Regions from separate parts of the Homo sapiens genome. Here regions 1, 2, 3 and 5 are each linked to region 4. Evidence: promoter capture Hi-C in human tissues and cell types (Jung and others, 2019). All regions are on one chromosome and are shown on one strand. Each heading gives the region's core, a stretch centred on a gene start or on the middle of the fragment in contact. The rest is flanking DNA. Distances are from core to core; before and after follow the strand shown. Region 1 overlaps RBMS3 (RNA binding motif single stranded interacting protein 3). Region 2 overlaps RBMS3 (RNA binding motif single stranded interacting protein 3). Region 3 has its middle 280 kb from the start of LINC00693. Region 4 holds the start of RBMS3 (RNA binding motif single stranded interacting protein 3). Region 5 overlaps RBMS3 (RNA binding motif single stranded interacting protein 3).

The links. Contacts are between HindIII fragments. The study calls those that stand out against the background at their distance.
Region 1: a contact is called between a fragment that was not itself captured here and the fragment with the promoter of RBMS3 in region 4, in 1 of the 25 tissues and cell types used here (dorsolateral prefrontal cortex).
Region 2: a contact is called between a fragment that was not itself captured here and the fragment with the promoter of RBMS3 in region 4, in 1 of the 25 tissues and cell types used here (dorsolateral prefrontal cortex).
Region 3: a fragment that was not itself captured here is called in contact with the fragment with the promoter of RBMS3 in region 4 in 1 of the 25 tissues and cell types used here (dorsolateral prefrontal cortex).
Region 5: a contact is called between a fragment that was not itself captured here and the fragment with the promoter of RBMS3 in region 4, in 1 of the 25 tissues and cell types used here (dorsolateral prefrontal cortex).

The regions. Positions count from the first base shown.
Region 1 is chr3:29,677,612-29,680,311 of GRCh38, forward strand. All of the region lies in intron 4 of RBMS3 (RNA binding motif single stranded interacting protein 3), which reads left to right. Among named protein-coding and RNA genes, the nearest start is that of RBMS3-AS2, 36 kb to the left of the region's middle. The HindIII fragment of the contact is 4,527 bases long and covers 1-2,700 here.
Region 2 is chr3:29,620,043-29,622,742 of GRCh38, forward strand. All of the region lies in intron 4 of RBMS3 (RNA binding motif single stranded interacting protein 3), which reads left to right. All of the region lies in intron 2 of RBMS3-AS2 (RBMS3 antisense RNA 2), which reads right to left. Among named protein-coding and RNA genes, the nearest start is that of RBMS3-AS2, 21 kb to the right of the region's middle. The HindIII fragment of the contact is 3,202 bases long and covers 1-2,700 here.
Region 3 is chr3:28,850,254-28,852,953 of GRCh38, forward strand. No RefSeq gene overlaps it. Among named protein-coding and RNA genes, the nearest start is that of LINC00693, 280 kb to the left of the region's middle. The HindIII fragment of the contact is 5,508 bases long and covers 1-2,700 here.
Region 4 is chr3:29,279,767-29,282,466 of GRCh38, forward strand. RBMS3 (RNA binding motif single stranded interacting protein 3) reads left to right here and starts at 1,305. Exons shown (of 15, transcript NM_001003793.3): 1 at 1,305-1,990. The coding sequence starts at 1,916. It overlaps RBMS3-AS3 (RBMS3 antisense RNA 3), which reads right to left and starts at 1,173. Exons shown (of 3, transcript NR_109804.1): 1 at 965-1,173. RefSeq lists an enhancer at 160-209. The HindIII fragment of the contact is 9,133 bases long and covers 1-2,700 here.
Region 5 is chr3:29,565,235-29,567,934 of GRCh38, forward strand. All of the region lies in intron 3 of RBMS3 (RNA binding motif single stranded interacting protein 3), which reads left to right. Among named protein-coding and RNA genes, the nearest start is that of RBMS3-AS2, 76 kb to the right of the region's middle. The HindIII fragment of the contact is 4,920 bases long and covers 1-2,700 here.

The DNA.
Region 1 (2,700 bases), core at 137-2,636, 400 kb after region 4:
CATATATACTTCAACATCTGCTCTCTGAACTTGTGGCATTTTTCCAGTTTTACTGTAGACAGCCTCAGATTCTGAAATTTTTTGTCCTTTTCTTCTTTTTATTGGGTTTTCTGGAAAATAGGCCCTTTTTTCCACAGGCAGTCTAGGACTATTTTCCTGAAAATTAGATATAATGAAGGATAACCTAATAAGAGTTGTTACACTCTTGGGGTTAGTGTAATGTAATAGAAAAAGCACCAGAATGTGAGTCAGACAAGCTGAATTTTAACTAGGATTCTGTCACATACCAGCTCTGTGGCCTTGGTTAAATCACCAAATACTCTGAGCCTCAGTTTCTTTACAAAGTTTTTGTGAGAATTAAATAAAGAACCTGCATGAAATCATGAGTAAGTTACATGAGAAGTATAAATCAGAATGCTAGCGATTATTTATTTAAAATGAACTATGGGGCTAAAGAAAGTAAGGTTACTACATTAAGGAACTAGGAACCAGTCCTTCCATCATGCTCAGCTCTGGTTAGGCCTGTGCTCAAGTTCTCTGCCCCATTTGTCAATTCCTGTTAATACATGATTCATTGAAACCTTGGTTGATATAAAATATTCTAGTGACTTGGGGATGGTGGGAGATAAGAAGAGAAGGGATTTCAAAATATATGTTAAATAGGAGTTTTGCTTTCAAGTATTTACCTTTGAAAATTTGAAAATAATTGAAAATAATTCAGAGGAGATTTATATATATATTATTAGGGGTTAGGAAGTAGTTCTTACACCAAACAGTAAAGAAAAACTGATGGTATTTTTCTTTGAGGAGAAAAGTCTGAAAGAAGATTTAATATTCCATTACTTGTGATACAATGGAGATTAATAACCAACCAAGATTCTTTGTCTCCAATAATTATAGGGCAAATGAAAACTGGCTTTAGTTGCATCAGTAGTAATCTCCAGAGAGTGAAAACAGGGTCGGACATCTTTGTAAGGAAGAGTCACCCACTTGTGATCTCAGGGATTGATGCCATAATTTCCATATACAAATTTTATGGTTTGACAAAAAATATTTTGTCACCCATGAGGAGGCAGTCACCCAAGAAAGAGATAGTATAACAATTAAAAATTTGAGAGAATGAGTTACTGGAGAAGGCTACGGGATACTGGATTCTTGAAGGGGGAAGAAGTTTATATCAGGTAGAGGGGAAAGATTCAACATATGGAGTCCAGGGGCCCATCTACCCCTCCATTTTATTGAGATCCAACCCTCAGTAGGAGCTACTAGCCACTGACTGGCTATTGACTGAGATGATATAATCACCTTTCGGCACACTTTAAAAGCTGAACAAATAATTTACAGGTATCTTACATTATTTCCCAAACTTCCTGACAACCATTTAGTATGGTGGCTACATCAAAATGGTTTGAGCAAGCACTGCTCCAGATAGTCCTAGAATCACAGCTTCAGAATCACCTGGGAGCTTGTCAGAAATGAAAATTCATGGGCACCACCTAGACCTGCTAAATTAGTGTCTCTGCAAATGGAGTCCCAGCATTCTGTGTTTCCATATGCTCTCCAGATGAGTTTTATGCATGATAAAGTTTGAAAAACCACTGATATTGATTACTCTTTACTTGTGAAGAATATATATGAGCTTCTTGTATTTATTTTTCGACTCAACATATACCCATGTGCAAACAACCAAAAAGCAGAGTAAAATGGGGTTTTGCATTATCCGTCGATTTTTCTATTTTTGAGCCAATCTCTTAATAGCATTTATTAGAGTCACTTTTGCCATACAATAGATTGCCAAGATCATGATTAAGAAGCTTATTAAAATGAATTTAAAATGTTTAAATGGAAACGACCTGGAGATGTAATTGCCAAAATTTAATCAAGCATTTAATTTGTAGCTCATACCAGCCAAATGGATTTTCCTTTTTTTCAGTTCCCTGTTTGTACAAGGAAATTAAAAAGTATGGAATCACAGGCCAAGCAGTGAACCCTTGATACTGCAGTGTGCTCACTTACTCTCATTAGCCGTATTATATCATCCTACTCCTTTGGAATTTTAGTTTCCCAAGCCAGTCTAGAGGATAGATAACAATTGACTGTATATATACACAATGGGTGAGTTAATATGCTTTAGCAATAATTTATACTACTTGACTGTATATATATATATATATATTATACATAGTGTTATAAATTACTGCTAAAACATATTGACTCACCCCATCAGCATTAATAAAATAGGCTAAATATTCTGATCTTAATTCTGCTTGTTTAAAATTCCCTTGTTTTAGCATGCCTGTCTAGCTGCCCTTAAATTGCTAAACTGGGGAGAAGTGTGATTTAGAATTGGAACATATTTCATGTGAATTTGATGATGGCCACCGCTGATAAAATACCTTTGTGTTGCCTCTTCCATTCTGCCAGTGATAATAGGTTTTCACTGAGCTCTTTGCACTTGTTTTACAAAGGCTCAAGCCTTGAATACTTTGTGCCTCACAGTATCCATCATTTAGACTCTGAAATCCCCAGTGTCGATTTGACAGAACAGTCGTTTATCAGCCACGGTTTGCCAAGTCAGCATTAATGCCTATGTGGCCTGAGGAAAAAAATAAATAAGATCAGTGATGTTCTAATCAAGCTCAGACAAACATGTTTTTATACTTGCATTTGAGTGATGTTTTGCCTAACAGAAGTGCTGGG
Region 2 (2,700 bases), core at 13-2,512, 340 kb after region 4:
CTTTGAATCCTGAGAAAATATTTCTGTAAGTTAAAATAAGGGTGAATAATGGTGAGGATAGCTTACAGTTCCAGAAAACAAATGGAAAATTTTGGAGATATTAAAGGCAAGAATAAATTTAATAATTTTTTTCTTGGCTAGCATGAACTTTTATATTTTGGATTGGATCCTTTAATGCTTAGATTAACATGCCATCCTTATTTTTATTGACATATTTGTATGTGCCACTTACAATTCTAGGATGTTACAACAAATTTTTTTATACATTCCAGGTTGCATATTCTATGTAATTGGCTACTTTTCAATGACTTGTTTGCACAATTTTTGAGTCTTCACTTTAGCCCCTGATTTCTCTTTCATATATTGAAGTTTAAGCTTATATCTCACTTCTCATTGAAGTCGCCAGTAACTTTAAATCATGACTAAGAGAATCTTAGGGGCTACAATTACGATAAAACTCTTATGACATGGGTCACTGTTCTTTAATTGAGGTGGTCCACTTACTGTGTAAATGTTTTAAAAAATCAATTAGAATAATATTTATATTATCTTTATGTACTTGATTTTCATATTGGCATTTAAAAGTGTGTTTTAACTAAAATTTTATTTTGCACCAATTCCATAAGTTAACTTTGGCATCCTCTAAAGAAATTTCACTTACAGAGAAAAAAAAATGTGTCTAATTAACTTTTTCCTTAGAGTTGTTTGTTTATAAGTCATCCTAGAACTCATTCCCTGGCTATTTTGAAATTTTTTCAGCAATCTAAATTTACTAGTTTAGTCTTTTTAAAAACGTTATCTTTTTAGGGAATTGAATTTTACGGTTTTACTAATAACTGAAATACTGTGATTAACCAATTACTTTATTATTGTTTTTAATTGTGATAAAATATGCATACCAATTATTTTAATATCTGAACATATCTATTAAGACTAAGAAATAGAATATTTCTTGTTTTTAAATGAAGTGCTCTATTCCATGCCCTTAAGTCATACCTAGGAAACCCATAGCTCATAAAGGCTGCTGGAACATGCAGGCCCATGTCAGAATTAAACCAATAGAGGGTCTCTGAAACTTGAATTTTCATCTTGGTGAGTCTTCTGGGGTTATTTATTCATGTGTTCTTGCTCCAAATGTCTGCTTCTTTTTTTTTTTTGCTTTTATTGGGTGAAAGACAGCATAATAATTCTATGTATTTAAATGCAACTGATATAATACATAATGGGGCAGAACTTTAAACTCTTATGCCCTCTGAAAACATTGTAAAGGCTGGAATGAAAACGTAAATGCAGGCACTCATGTAGTTATAAAGGATGAACTTTCGAAAATTGAAACAGTCTTCTCTTCAGAAAGATGCTCAGTGATTTGTGTGCAAGATAGGGCTGGAACAAGGGACTCCTGACTATCAGGGACTCTGCAGATTATTTGTAGTTGTCTCTCTGTTGTTGATCAAATAATGAATGTAAAAGATGGTTGTTATATCTGTAGAGAGCCTCATTGTATTTTGTATTAAACCTTTCAATAAAAGTGAATAGTTTTACTTCCATTAGTTGGAAAGGACAACCTATAACTTATCAGAAGTCTCCTGACAGCATAATACCAAGTTCTAGAATGAAAATAAAATGCCTACAAATATTTGGTTTGGTTAAGATTAAAGATGCCTGGTTCAAGCATGCTACTTTGTTGTGGCAGTAAAATGTATGCACAATGCCATTTAAACAACAGAAAAAAAAGGATGAAAGAAAAAAAAAGTTTCTCAGGTAACAGAGGAAATCTGAAAAGATATCATATACCTGTAGAAAAAAGAAAAAAACCCACTTTATGGAATTAGCTCCAATCTTCAATTTGGGATGCCTAATCTAGTCTTCGCTTTTGCTGTAGGAGAATCTACATATACTTGTGGAAAACTTATACTTCAGGCACTGGCAAGGTCCTAGGGATGAAATAAAAAATAAGATTTCGCTTCTGTGTTCTTCATTTATAAGACCATAGTGCCTTCATTTATAAAATTAAAGGATCCGGTGAACTCTAAACTCTTCCAGCTCTAAAATTTCATGGAAAAAAAATCAATGAATATATTCATGTATTCCTCCTACAAATATTTATTATAATTTAGAAACTGTGCTGTAGGTATTGATTATAGAGTAAACAAGGCATAAAATGTTCCTGCCCTTATAGGGCTTACATCTGGGGAAGTGAAGACAGAGCCTGAAAAAATATCCAAATAAATATAATATAATTTTGCATTGTAAAAAATTTCGTGAAGAAAAAGAAGCACATAGGGTGATGTGATATTCCTGGAAGATCTATGTGTATTACCAGAATACAGATTGGAGGACAAGCTCTGTTCTGAGCTTGTGTTGTTGAGAGTGTGCATGGGCAATTAGTTTTTATAATATGAATCTAAATATAGTTTATAAAATAAATGCATGAAGACATTTTGAGAGACAGCCTTACATAATATACTCATGAGAATTATTCAGTAAAATAATCTTCTATCAGATGAAATGTACAATAAAATTGGCTTGTTGAACGTCATTGTCCTATATAGTGGTAGCATCTATGATGTAAAACATTGTCTAGGAGAGGACCTGAATCTTAGGTGAATAGTAAGTGCCATAAAAGTAATGCCAAACATGAAGACACAATGTGTAGTGATGGAGGGCACAGACTGTGGAGCCAGACTGCCCCAGTTCACA
Region 3 (2,700 bases), core at 109-2,608, 430 kb before region 4:
CTGGAGGACAAGGCCCCTGAATTGCTATGTAGTGAGGGTGGAGGAGTTTCTCAAAGGAATCTGCTATTGTTATAAAAAAAATGTGAGAATGGGAACTAGGCAAGCCACTCAACAGATACTCATTACAGATATTTCTAGCTCCAGTATTCTGAGTCTAACATTCTGCATGGACCTCAGACCTGGCACAGCAATGGGAAATCCTGAAGCAGCAAGCTAAAAGATAGGGCTGGTGCTTTCTGGAGACCTCCTGGCTGTTTCCTTCTACGCACAGCTGTGGGACTTTTCTCTTATCCAGACTGGAATAGTTTTCCTTTGGGTGATTAAAGGAGTTGTATGTGCCCAGAACTATGTGTGCTTTCACAAACACAACTGTTGGTCATGTATGTCCCTGTTCATGCCGTGAAGCGTGAGGTTTTCCTTGAGAAAGGGCCACTCCTGCCTGCTCACTAACAAAGCCAAGAAGTATACAGCAAAATATGTTAGGATGTCACATTGGACATCCTCCCTTTTCTCCCATAGTTTTATAAGTGATTATAAAGACAAGCCCATGCCCGAATTTTGCCCTATTGGCTCTATGCACCATTTGTTTTTATGAGCATTTTGCTCATGTGGGAAAAATGGCTATGCATTTCTCGGGCTCTCGCCCTGTTATGTTTTTCTCCTCTTGATTCTACCAGTTAATCACAAAAAACAACCCTTCTGAATGTGGGGTTTTCCCCTGGCATGTGTCTGTGCTATGGAACCAGTAGCTCATAATGGCCAGTCTGTGAGGGGAAGTTGGTGTGAATGCTGGCTTATTTAATGTGCATGTGAGGGAAGAAGAGGTTTCAGAGGCCTTTTAAAAGGATTGTGCTGATATCTTAAGAATCATCTGGTGCCTCATAATATTTGCTAATCAAACCACAGAAAACATGGAGAGGCTGGGAGGTTCAGTGGTTACAGTACCCACATGCCCATCAAGCAGGCTTGTCCCAGCGTTAACCATTAACTGTCTTTTTCACACATCCTGGGTAACTTGCTCTTTCTTTCATTTCAACTTATGATAGAGACATCAATAATTATCCCACAAAGTTGTAATTAAAATAGTCAGCAGAACAAGGCCAAAATAGCCAATATCAATAAGAAAATTAATTGGTCTTAGATCTGAAAGAGCATCGAGTTGCTGAGTGCAATATTAGAGATAAGTTCATGTTTGCAGGAGTAGGAAGGCTTGTGAGGTGCTCTTGTGAGAAGAACAGATAACAATGGCATCATCTTTTATGAAAGGGGTTATATTCTAGTGTCCTAATGGAAGGTAGAAATTGCATACAATTAAGATAACCTTTAGAAATCTCTGAAATATTACATGGGGTTTTGTATGTACACATATGCGGCAATATAATATGTAGTATAAATAATATGTAACATTAGATAACATTCACATTATAATAATTATGTACTATGCATATATAATGTGTAATATATATTATATTTTATATGTAATATGTTCTATAACATATATGTAGTGCATTATAAATATAGTAGTCCCCCTTATCCACAGGGGATACATTCCAAAAGCCCTAGTGGATACCTGAAACCATAAATAATACCAAACCATATATATATATATACTGTTTTCTCCTATACATACATACCTATGATGAAGTTTAATTTGTAAATTTGGCACAGTAAGAGATTAACAATAATTAGTAATAGAAAAGTTAAAACAATATACTATAATAAAAATTATGTGAATGTGGTCTCTCTCTCTCTCTCAAAATATCTTATTGTATGTAATATTTCCAGATTGTGGTTGACAGTGGGTGGGGATGGGAGTGAAGACACAAATAAGGGGAAACTGACGTACTTGTGTATTATACACACAAGTAAATATATCCTTGTGTTTATAATATATAAATCTAAGTAATACATATACACATATATATAACATATTGTATATATTATATAAATATATACTATATATTTATAAGGTATTACCTATATAATAATATACAATTGATATTAGTTAAGTTTATATTATATATGAACTTTACAAGTTTATAATGTTATAAACATACATATGTAGCATTTGTATTTGAATACATGTTCAAAATATAATTTCACAGAATTTTAATTATGTAAGCAAATCTGCTTATATTTGAATTCCCAGAAGTTATGGCACATGTGATTATCTTCTTTTTACCTCAAAGCCTTACTTGTAGAGTAGAAAGTACCTTCTCTTGGTTCCTTTTGGAATTCCCTCATTTTATCCCGGTATACAGGTATAGTCTAAGCTCAGCATTTGGTGCTATGCTGGCTTTTCTGCCCAAATGCTATGAATTTAAGCTATGCATAGATATAAAATATGTGGTCATGTTTGAAGTTTGGTTCTTTACCAATCTTAGTTTAGACCTGAGTAATTTGGGAGCACAAGAAGCCAAAGAAATTTTTAATCTGCTAGAAGTGTCTTCAAGAATGGCAATTGTTAAGTATCCATTCAAAGAAAAACTGAGTATTCCTGGCAGATGGATGATATTTTAAATCCTCATAATTTATTTACTCTTATTTTAGCCATCATAAAAATTTTAGTGTATCAATTATACACAAAACTGAATATTAAAAGCCAGAGAAGAAACACGCTGACATGTACTTATTTTGAGCCCAGTCACCTCAAATTATAAACAAGTTCTATACTATGTCTGCACAAATGCACATGTATAT
Region 4 (2,700 bases), core at 55-2,554:
CCATCCTTATTTTTATCCAAGGAACACGTATGCACTCACACAGCTTCCAGAAACCAGTTCCCCTCGGTGGAAGCCAGTTGCTTTAGGGGTGGTGCGGCTTGTATGTGGATGGACACCATGTGTGCACTGAGCCCAAATTCTCTGTTCTTCTTGACTAGGAAGCTGGATTTGTACCAGGGACCTTTTATCTAAATAGGAGACTCTGGGCTCAGGAGAACAGAGCCGACTTGACAAAGTAGAAAAGAGCTCAGTATTGGTCTGCCCACGCTTTGGGCATGCGTGAGCACTCGCAGCAAAACACAGCTGGCACATCTAATTTTAGCCTCGCCCGCCTTGAAAAGGGACCCTTTAAGGAAATATATTTTATCTGAAACAATTTGTATTATAATGTAGCAGCTGATAGACATGACAGAATATTATCATTGGTGGGAAAAAACTCTGCCAAGCAATTATGATTTTTGTTCTTTTTTTTTTAGATGATATCAGTAAAGTGATTAAAGCATCAATGCAACAAAATAATCATAAAGAGAGAGACAATGGGAGAAACAGATTTTATCTGTAAAATATCTGACGAACCTAAGGGGTCACTTCCTTTGATTTTTTTTTTTTTTTTTTTTACAAAATGGATGTATTTTAAAAAAGTTATTATTTTTGATATGTTCAGTTGATCAGTCCAATCTGATGACATGTGGCATTAATAGTAGTCCTGGAGTAGACCCTAAAATTTCTTCAATACTTAACATCCACCAAGTTTTCCAGGTAGTAAAAGGTTAGTTTCTCAATCAGCTCTTGGATGCGTCTGGCTCTAGCGTGTTAACAGATTTTGAAAGCATCCGGGACTTACTTTTTTCCCCTTTAACCAGCAAGGTTAGTTCCCCTGCCTTTATTTCTTTTCCTTTCTCCTCCTTCCTTCTTTCGTCCTCTCTTCCCTCTCTTCTGTGTTTTGTTTAGCAGTGTGGCTTACCTTGGAACTTGGCAAAAAGAGGAACAAAAAGCAGCTCTTGTGTGGGGTAGATGGAGGAGGGATAAGAAATAATCCACCGCCCGCATTTGAGTTCTTCAGGTTCAGTTCCAGCGGCAGCAGCGTTGCTGCAAAAATCGCTTGCTATTCGAGATAGCCAGCAGAGGGAATCGGAACTTTGCTTGCAGCAGGGGTTGAAGCAGCCTTTTTTTTTTTTTTTCTTGGAGGAAATACTGCAGCCTTCTGGACTGCGTACGCTGCTCCCTGGAGAGGCTCTCTCGGTTCCACCCACCGGCTGGAAGGAGGGGAAGTGAATGAAAGGACAGGACAAGCCCCGAACACCATGTCACTCTGGGAGGGAGACAGCAGCAACTAAGCTGTACAAGGTTTTTTTTTTTTTTTTTTCTTCCTTTTTTTCTTTTTTTTTTTCTTTTTCCCCTTTCTTTTTCTTTCTTTCTTTCTTTTTCTTTCTTTCTTTCTCTTTCTCTCTCTCTTTTTTCTTTTTCTTTAAGGTGGGGAAAGAGACAACCAAGAGACAGGAAGCTGATCTGCAAGGATTCGGAGTTGTGCTAAAAGGACTTTGATTTTTTTCCCCCTTTACGAACGCTGGCAATTGACATCACTACAGACAGCCTGGTTAGAGAACAAACTGCCTCATCCCAAGTGGACCCCGGCAGCTGGGGGAAGCCAGGCAAGATCTGGGAAGGCTGTGTGTGGGTGTTTTTTCTACAGATCTCACTCCTCGCCCTTTTTTTTTTTCCTTTGGTGTGTGTTTTTTGTTTTGTTTTGTTTTTTAAAAAAATTCTTGCTGTGTTGGAACTAGCGAGTGGTGGAGTCTCTGAAGCCTCATCAGTCACCGGGACTGTCAGGAATAGTGGTTTAAGAGGAAGCTCGGCCTGGGGCACTATACCCTGTCATCCAGTTCCCTGCCTCGGAGATAAAGATTCCAGCTACATGGGCAAACGCCTGGATCAGCCACAAATGTACCCCCAGTACACTTACTACTATCCTCATTATCTCCAAACCAAGGTATGGCTTGACCCACGGTCTGGCGATCAGCGTGGTATCGTTCTGCACTTGGGATGGGAAACAGACAGGCGTGTGAATTATTAGTTAACCCCCACCCCCATCACTTCTTCCTGCTTCTTTGAAATTAGTGACATACCAATGGAGTTAATGAGGCAGAGGAAGACATAAGAAGAAAGCAGCAAACCCGGAATTGTAGCTTTCTCTTTAAGGAGAGATAATAGTTTCACTTGAGTTCAGTTTCTTTGTTGTTATTTGGCAGCATAAATGGTCCTGATATCAGGAACGTCTTTTGCAGATGGGCACGGTTTTTAGAAAGCAGATCACAACAGTGATTACCAGGCACAAGAATATAATTTCAGGGGCTTTTCTGGTGAGCTGTTCTTTGATTGTGGCTCTAAAAGGGTTTTTCCCACTGGATAGGACGTGCAACGGTGGGGGTAACTCAAACTTTTAATCGCAGGGTATAGAATGAAAGAAGGGTGTGAGAAGGTATAGGGCTCCTACCAGAGTCTCTGAGAGTTTATTTTTATTTTTAATTTGCCTTGCCTATTTTATTTTATGTTGAGGATGATCAGCATGCTACAGACTGCTTTACAATAGATGTTCTTTACTTTTAGAAGATCTATTTTTCTGTGTAGCTGCCATGAGGAGGCCTGAGTCTTGAAAAGGAATGAAATGTAACTGATCATAATTGGACTTGAATTGGTTAA
Region 5 (2,700 bases), core at 192-2,691, 290 kb after region 4:
TATTGTACAGTGTAAAGGAGAGCTCTCAAAAACTTAGAGGGAATGAGTTATTAATGTGTTATAAATGCACCATAAAGAAAAAACTTCTGGCTTGTGACACTGTTTGTGAATTTTTGTGTGTTTGAAAACATTTCCAAGGTCATGTTTTTAAGGGCAGGACTTGAAAACAGTGATTTCACTATGGAATTCTGGCATTCTCTAAACAGGACTTCTTTGTGAGCACCCTTGATCTTGGTATTTTTTGTCTCTTCAAGATGAGCTATGAGCTCACCTATTTTTGTTTTCCTTCTGCTGAGCAATACTGTTCCTGGGCTCTTTTGTTAAGTCACAATAAACTAGGCAAGCAACCAGGAGGTCCTTGACACAAAGTCCTTTATTGATCTGAAAACCACACTGTGCTAACCTCACCTTAAAATCCTATAGCATAAATCTCTAGTTCCTCAAAAACAGCCAAAGTATTAACACCAAAACACTAGATATCCTTGTTTTCAATGCATATTTGACAATTTAGAAAAGGTAGTTCTTTATGAAAAAAATTGTTTTCTTTTTAGTTTTAAACTTTTATGTCCAACATCTTCCAGGTCTCTCTTGAAGATAAATGTTTTGCCCTTTTGTGCCAAAGAGCACAAAAATACAGTCAGGCCAATGTCATGATTGTAGGGTTGGAGTTGCAAATTTAAAAGATTCTATGATGCTCCTTAAATTATAATATAAAAGTATTTTATAATAAGAGAGGCAAGGAATTGTGTATCAGAGAGTTATGAGAATTATAATGCCTGAAGTTATATATGTGACCAAATGAAAGGCTTTTAATTTGTTAGGAATTTGCTCATTCATTCACTTACTTATTGACTCGTTCATTCAATGGCTAGTATGAGCCAGAATGTGTGGTAAGATGATATAGTTACAAACAAAACCATTCTGTTCTCTATGATCTTGGCACTTACAGCCTCTTAGGGTAAAATATAATAATCATATAAACAAATAAAATAATCCACAAATTATGCCCACTGCAATGAAGGACATTAACAGCATGCTGTGATAGACACTAATGGAGGAGAAGAATTCAGCTCCTGTACAATCCTGGGGAGTGAGTGCTCCAGTCAAAAGCAACAGCAGGTGCAAAAGCCTCAATGTGGCCAAAATATAGTAAAGCAGTAGAAGAGTAGCATGCAAATTGATGTAAAAATTGTGAAGCTCTACGTAACACATAGGTGATGTTGCCTGTCCTGCACTGTTCTACATGATACCTTCCCCAGTGTCTCCACTTTGGTCAAGATTACATGTCCCCGTTAATTGCTTGAATTCACCCTTTACTTACCTGTCCCCAAATATTTGTTCATACTTGAATGCTATTTCTCCCTCATGTCTAAATGTTGTCATTCTGCAAAGCAAAATGCAAAAAAAAAAAAAAAAAAAATTAGGGAAAAAGAGTATACATTGTGCGATTCAATTAATGGAAGATTCTAGAAAATGCCAAATTCATCTGTAATGACAGATGCCTGGTTGCTGGGGGTGTGTGTGGAGGTGGCTGCAAAGAGGTACAAATGGAATTTGGGGGATGATGAAAGAGTTCTGTATCTTGATCGTTATGGTGGTTATGCAGGTGGATTATCTGTCAAAACTCAACAAACTGTACACTGAAATGGCATTTATCATATGCAAGTTATATCTTAAATAAGTTGATTAAAAAGTTATAGAATAAGAAAAACAATAAAAAGCTTAAATTCATCTTCTCCATTATCTCTCTAATAAGAAATAACCTTTCTTTCTATCATCATGGCATGTACTGTTCATGTGTTATAGGTTTTTGTATTTGTGATAAGCATACCACATAGAGCCCTCAGTGAATGTCATGATGTTAAAGTGACTATTTCTTCATTGGGTTTGCATATTACCTTATGAGAGAAATCACGTCTCATTTGTACTTTTCTCCCCCCACAGCACCTAGCTTAGAATACATAAAAGAACCTCACTGAGCATTTGGTAAATCAATAGCAATATTTTTATATTTACATCCTGACTGGTTCCCAAAAAGGATGAGCAGGAAAAGAAATTGATTTCCAGGAGTTGATAAATGAATAGACTGTTCTTGGCACTGGAGCCCACATCCTGTCTCCATATGTAAAAATTGGTGGTAGAAAAGGGTTTTCAACCTACCTTCTTCACACTCATGCTTACTTACTGATTTAATGAAATGCTTGTGATGGTTTCTGTGTTCTCCAGTAGGTAAACGCTATACAGACCCTCTGCATTATCCTTCTTAATAGTCCATTATTCCTCTGTAGAGAGTCCAGTGGTAGAATCAGCGTTGTCAAGCTGCAAGGAGGGGACACAAAAGTGTTATAGGAAGGTGACATTTATGCCCCATTATGAGTGAAGGAAAATCGAAGGAGCAATAGTGGTCTATTGCATAACTGCCCCTGTTGGGTTGTTATGAGGAGAACTGTGTAAATCAGCCCTCGTGCTTATCCTTGAGAAATTCTTTTTCCCCTTTCCTCATAGCCTCTCTCTGTGCAATTTTTGGTGTTCTCAACTGGCCGATTACCTAGAATATTAGCTTTTCAAAATATGACACAGAAGTTCACCAATTCCTTCCAACTCATAACACTTTAAAATTGCAATTCCAAATTATTCCTGTAAAAATAGCTGATCTTTATGACTCCTAGGGGATTTCTTATTTTAATCTGAAACCTTCAG